2 separate regions of the Homo sapiens genome follow, and region 1 is linked to region 2. Evidence: promoter capture Hi-C in 16 types of primary human blood cells and fetal thymus (Javierre and others, 2016). All regions are on one chromosome and are shown on one strand. Each heading gives the region's core, a stretch centred on a gene start or on the middle of the fragment in contact. The rest is flanking DNA. Distances are from core to core; before and after follow the strand shown.

Region 1 (2,700 bases), core at 33-2,532, 210 kb after region 2:
AGAAGATTGCTTGAGCCCAGGAGGTCAAAGCTGCAGTGAGCTGTGTTTGTGCCACTGCATTCCAGCCTGGGTGACAGAACAAGACCGTGTTTCAAAAAAAAAAAAGCAGGGGCTGGGTGCGGTGTGGCTCAAGCCTGTAATCCTAGCACTTTGGGAGGCTGAGGTGGGCCGAGGTCAGGAGTTTGAGATGAGCCTGACCAACATGATGAAACCCTGTCTCTACTAAAAATACAAAAATGAGCCAGGCGTGGTGGTGCGCCCCTGTAACCCCAGCTACTCAGGAGGCTGAAGCAGGAGAATTGCTTGAACCTGGGAGGTGGAGGTTGCGGTGAGCTGAGATCGTGCCATTGCACTACAGCCTGGGTGACATGCCTGGAGCCCCATGTACTTGGGAGGCTGAGGCAGGAGTATTGCTTGAACCCAGGAATTTGAGGCTGTAGTGTGCAATGATCATGCCTGTGAATGTACTCCAGCATGGGCAAAACAGCAAGACCTGGCCTCTAAAAGGAAAAATGATTTATTATTTATTTTTTGAGACAGAGTCTAGCTCTGTCACCCAGGCTGGAGTGAAGTGGCGTGATCTTGGCTCACTGCAACCTCCACCTCCCAGGTTCAAGTGATTCTCCTGTCTCAGCCTCCCCAGTAGCCGGAATTACAGGTGCGCACCACCAAGCTTGACTAATTTTTGTATTTTTAATAGAGACAGGGTTTCACCACATTGGCCAGGCTGGTCTTGAACTTCTGACCTCAAGTGATCTGCCTGCCTTGGCCACCCAAAGTGCTGGGATTATAGGCATGAGCCACCACACTCAGCCTAGGTTTTTTTTTTAATCAATTTTTTAAAAAATATCAATTCTACTAAAAGACTGCCACCTCACAGATTGAATACCAGGCCACCACACAGTATCTTAAGAGGCCAGGCTCCTCCCCCCTGTACAAGGCGCAAACTTCCCCTGCCTCCACCTCATTCTCCCAGTGTGCAGGTGGGTCCCCAGTCTGTTGCAGGCATGTGCAGACAAGACCCTGGGCAGATTCCCTTATCTGCAGAAAAGCATCTGATGTAAACACTTGTGGGGTTGGTTGGAGATTCTCCGGGGACCCTCCCTTATCTGCCTCCTGCGTCTATCACTAGCAGGACCTCGTATAATTTTTGTATGAATTAAGAAAGTAGGCCGGGCCTAGTGGTTCACATCTGTAATCCCAGCACTTTGGGAGGCCAGGGCAGGAGGATCGCTTGAGCCTGGAGTTCAAGACCAGCCTGGGCAACATGGTGAGACCTTGTCTCTACAAATAAACAATTAGCTGGGTGTGGTGGTGCGTGCCTGTTGTCCCAGCTACTTGGGAGGCTGAGGTGGCAGAATCGCTTGTGCCCCAGTGGTCAAGGTTGCAGTGAGTTGTGATCATGCCACAGCACTCTAGCCTGAGTGATAGCGCAAGACCCCGTCTGAAAAAAAAAAAAAATTAATATACCGGCAGAGTCCTCATACCAGGATTTCTCATTTTCCTACAATGTATAATATCAATAGTAGGCATCCTATGTAGCATTTTCTCTTCAACTATCAACAGTGAACATGACAAGGTGTTAGATCTCACACATGTTGTATGCTCTCCACTTCTGATCACTGTAGAATGAAAACAAATGTACTGTTCTAGGGATCAGTGTCCTTCAGTGATGTGGCTGTGGGCTTCACCCAGGAGGAGTGGCAGCATCTGGACTCTGCTCAGAGGACCCCGTACAGAGACATGATGCTGGAGAACTACAGCCTCCTCCTCTCAGTGGGTAAGGATTATGTAATTTGCAGCTTCAAATAACATTTATTTCCTTTTTAGCTGCTGATTACAGATGGTTTCTTTGTATGAATATGAGTTAAAGGCTTGAGACTCAGGAGTTGAAGCTTGATTGATCCCTTCTGGGCACTGTAAAGAATATCTGTGGTGTTTTCTGTAATGAAATGCTCAAGTGGACCTATTTTTGTGCAGGCACACCTTTGTCCTCCGCAGGCTATCTGGCCCACGTCCTGTGTCATTTTCATTCACAGGATATTGCATTACCAAACCAGAGGTGGTTTGCAAGTTGGAGCATGGACAGGTGCTGTGGATATTAGAGGAAGAGTCCCCAAGTCAGAGCCACCTAGGTGAGTTAATAAATATATAGGAAGCTATAATCCCAGGGAGAAATTTGATCCTAGGGAGATACTTCACATATTGACATCTTTGAAATTTTTCAGAGATATGTTTTTAGAGTTACCAGAACTTTGGAAGTGACTAAGAAGAGTTGGCCTGCTTGCCTCAGATGTATATGTTATTACACACTAGCAGATAACAGCTAAATGGTCTTTGTTTTTTTCCAAAACTTAATCCTTGCCTCTCTCAGTTTAGTCAAATGAATGTCATTTGACTCTTCCTTCTATATCAATTTCAGTTATCTTCTTTTCATCATATATTATGTATTTATTCAATATGTATTAATTTGGCAGCTACGATGTTGGCATTTCCATCTGTGTTAGAGATATAGCTCTAACACCATGGCTGTGTTATGTTGGTAGAAGAGAATGAGATGTAGTGTGTGCTTTATGCAAGGGCCTTTTTGAAGTCAGTAGTTTAATAAACACAGATTTGAATTGTGTGTCAGTGGAATATTCTGGCCAGATGGTATACCCTGTGCTGTGAACCTTAGGCCACAGTGTCACGTGTGCAGGA
Region 2 (2,700 bases), core at 79-2,578:
TTCGGCTGGAGGCCCCCTAGAGCCGCTTAGAGTCCAGGGCACCGAGGTGGACAGGCTGGGCTGGCAAGACTGCATCCGGAGGGGGCGGGAGAACCCTGGGGGGACAGAGGGAACCAAGGCCTCTGGGAGGCTCCCCTGCACCCAGCCTGACTCCTGTGTTTCAGGATCCTGCGGCCGACGGCCATCGGGGCCCTTCCTGCGCAGGACAGTGGGAGAAGAGTGGCAGTGGTGGGGAGGGTGAACCAGGGAGAAGCTCACTGCTCTGAGCAGGGAGGGAGGGAGCCCCGGCCACCACCAGGTCTCTGCCCCCAGGTGGCTCCCAAGAGGCAGGCAGCGGCCTCTCTGTAAATATCCACCAGGTCCAGCACCCAGAGGCAGCCAGAAATGCAGGGCACAGGAACCTGCCAGCGCGTCCCTCCACACACAGCAGGGGACTCCCGCCCCCACCTCTCACTCACCGACCCTCGGACCAGAACCAGCTGCACCTGCCCCGTTCCTGGGGCCGGCAAGGCCTGGGGCAAAGAGAGCGTGGTCCTTCAAATGACCCTTGCCCAGCAGGGAGAGGGAGACACCTGGCATGGCCCTGGACCTCTCCCCCAAATGCAGAGCTCAAGCCCCAATTCCTCGCCAAACAGCAAGGGCGTGAGATACCACGGCGGGGCCCAGAATGCAGAAGAGCAAATGGAAACTTCCAACTGCGCAGCCCTGAGCTCCTCCGATTCCCCAGCCCCCACCCCCACGCCAGGCCCCGGGCAGCGAACCTGCCCGCAGTGCCCACGCCCGCCCGCCGCGTGCGCTCCTGCCACGCCCGGCCCGGCCCGGCCCGGCCCGCCAGGTGCCCTGAAGGGGCGGAGGGTGCAGGGGGTCCTGGCGCCGTCCAGCCCGGGGCGGAGTTCTCAGCAACTCCGCGCGCCGGGATCCCGGCCGCCCTCCCCGCGCGCGTCCCCCGCCCCGCGCCCGGAGCCCGCGCCCCGGCCCCACGACGGCCGCGCCGGGAGGGACCCCGGGCCCGCGCACGCCGCGCCCTGCCCGCGCCGGCGACCGGAGGGCACGGCCCCAGGCGCGGGCGGGGGCCCCGAGGCACTGAGGGTCCGCGGCCGCTGCCTACCTCGGTCCGGGCCAGCGTCGCTCCCGCGCCGCCCTCGCGCCGCAGTCGGGCCCCGAGCAGCGCGCGGCCGGCGCCGGCGGCGGCTCATGCTCGGCGCCCGGGCCCGCGGCACCCGCCCACCCGCGGCCGCCCCCGCGCTGCGCCAGCTGCGGGCAGAGCAGCTCCCTCCGCAGCCGGCGCCGGGGAGCGCGAGCGAGCGAGCGAACGAGCGAGCGCGGAGCGAGCGCCGAGCGGGCACGGAGCGGGCGCGAGAGCGCGGGGAGCGGGGGAGCGGGCGGGCGCGGGACGCGGAGGGAGGAGGGTGCGGGGCAAAGGTGCAGGGGGAGGTAGGGCGCGGGACGGGGCTCGAGCAGAGGGCACTGGGACAGGGCGGGCGCCGGGAGAGGGCGGCCAGGCTTTCATTTAAAAAGGATAAGGCATCACGCCTGTAATCCCAGCACTTTGGGAGGCCGAGACGGGCGGATCACGAGGTCAGGAGATCGAGACCATCCCGGCTAACACGGTGAAACCCCATCTCTACTAAAAATACAAAAAAAAAAATTAGCCGGGCGTGGTGGCGGGCGCCTGTAGTCCCAGCTACTCGGGAGGCTGAGGGAGGAGAATGGTGTAAACTCGGGAGGTGGAGCTTGCAGTGAGCCGAGATCGCGCCACTGCACTCCAGCCTGGGTAACAGAGTGAGACTCCGTCTCAAAAAAAAAAAAAAAAAAAAAAAAAAAAGGATCAGGCAGCAGACAAGCTAGGAGGCGATGCGGCCACCGCATTTAAAAGGCCCTCTGGGGACTCCCGCAGAGCTGGCAAAATTTTTGTCAGTGGAATCAGACGGTGAAAGCCCTTCTGTGGGCAAGTCCTGGCCCCTTGGGTCACTCCCCTTAACCATCTTAATCGCCCTGTAAGGTCGGTGGTGGATTTGTTCCCATTGGACAGGTTAGTAAACTGATGCACAGGGAGTGCGGTTACCCTGCAGGGTCTCAGAGCCTATAAGTGGCAGAGCAAGGCTCCAAAGCCACCTTGAAAGATTTCAGAACCACTAAAGCAGGACACAGGTCTTCTGGCGTCCACTGGAACTTCCTGTCGCTCTGAAGGGTCACCTTCTCTTGAACGGACACCCTGTGGCCTGACCCCAGGGTGGCCCAGAGTGACTCTTGCAGGCAGTCAGACGAGGGCCAGTGAGAAACAGGTCTGGGGCGACGATGTCCCCAGGTGGAGGGGTCTGTGTGAAAAAATGGGGAGGAGCCCCACAGCACCCCTTGAAGAGGCTGAGGACCTTGCTTACTCACTTAGTCCTTGTGTCTTGAACACCTGTATGCCAGGTGTAAGATGGGGCACTGGGATTCGGCTGTGAATGTCTCTGTCTGGTTGGAGTTTGCATTCTTGTGGGAAGTAGGCAGTGAATAAAAATACACATAAATAGTTCATGTGTCAGATGCTGCAGATCCCACAGAGAGGCCCAGCAGGGAGAGGGAGCCAGCGAAGGGAGGGGGAGGGGAGCTTGTAGGGTGGGGGATTCTTTTTTATTTTTTAAGGGGAGGTGTCACTGTGTGGCCCAGGCTGGAGTGCAGTGGCTATTCACAGGTGCAATCACTATGCTCTAC

The links. Contacts are between HindIII fragments. The CHiCAGO score rates a contact against its expected background, and 5 or more counts as called.
Region 1: a fragment that was not itself captured here is called in contact with the fragment with the promoter of RASGEF1A in region 2 in 2 of 17 cell types (neutrophils and erythroblasts); the score reaches 6.5 in neutrophils.

Annotation. Positions count from the first base shown.
Region 1 is chr10:43,474,068-43,476,767 of GRCh38, forward strand. ZNF487 (zinc finger protein 487) reads left to right here. Exons shown (of 4, transcript NM_001355444.3): 2 at 1,654-1,780; 3 at 2,040-2,135. The coding sequence starts at 1,747. Among named protein-coding and RNA genes, the nearest start is that of ZNF487, 38 kb to the left of the region's middle. The HindIII fragment of the contact is 1,222 bases long and covers 672-1,893 here.
Region 2 is chr10:43,265,737-43,268,436 of GRCh38, forward strand. It overlaps RASGEF1A (RasGEF domain family member 1A), which reads right to left and starts at 1,329. Exons shown (of 13, transcript NM_145313.4): 1 at 1,109-1,329. RefSeq lists an enhancer at 1-834. The HindIII fragment of the contact is 10,296 bases long and covers 1-2,700 here.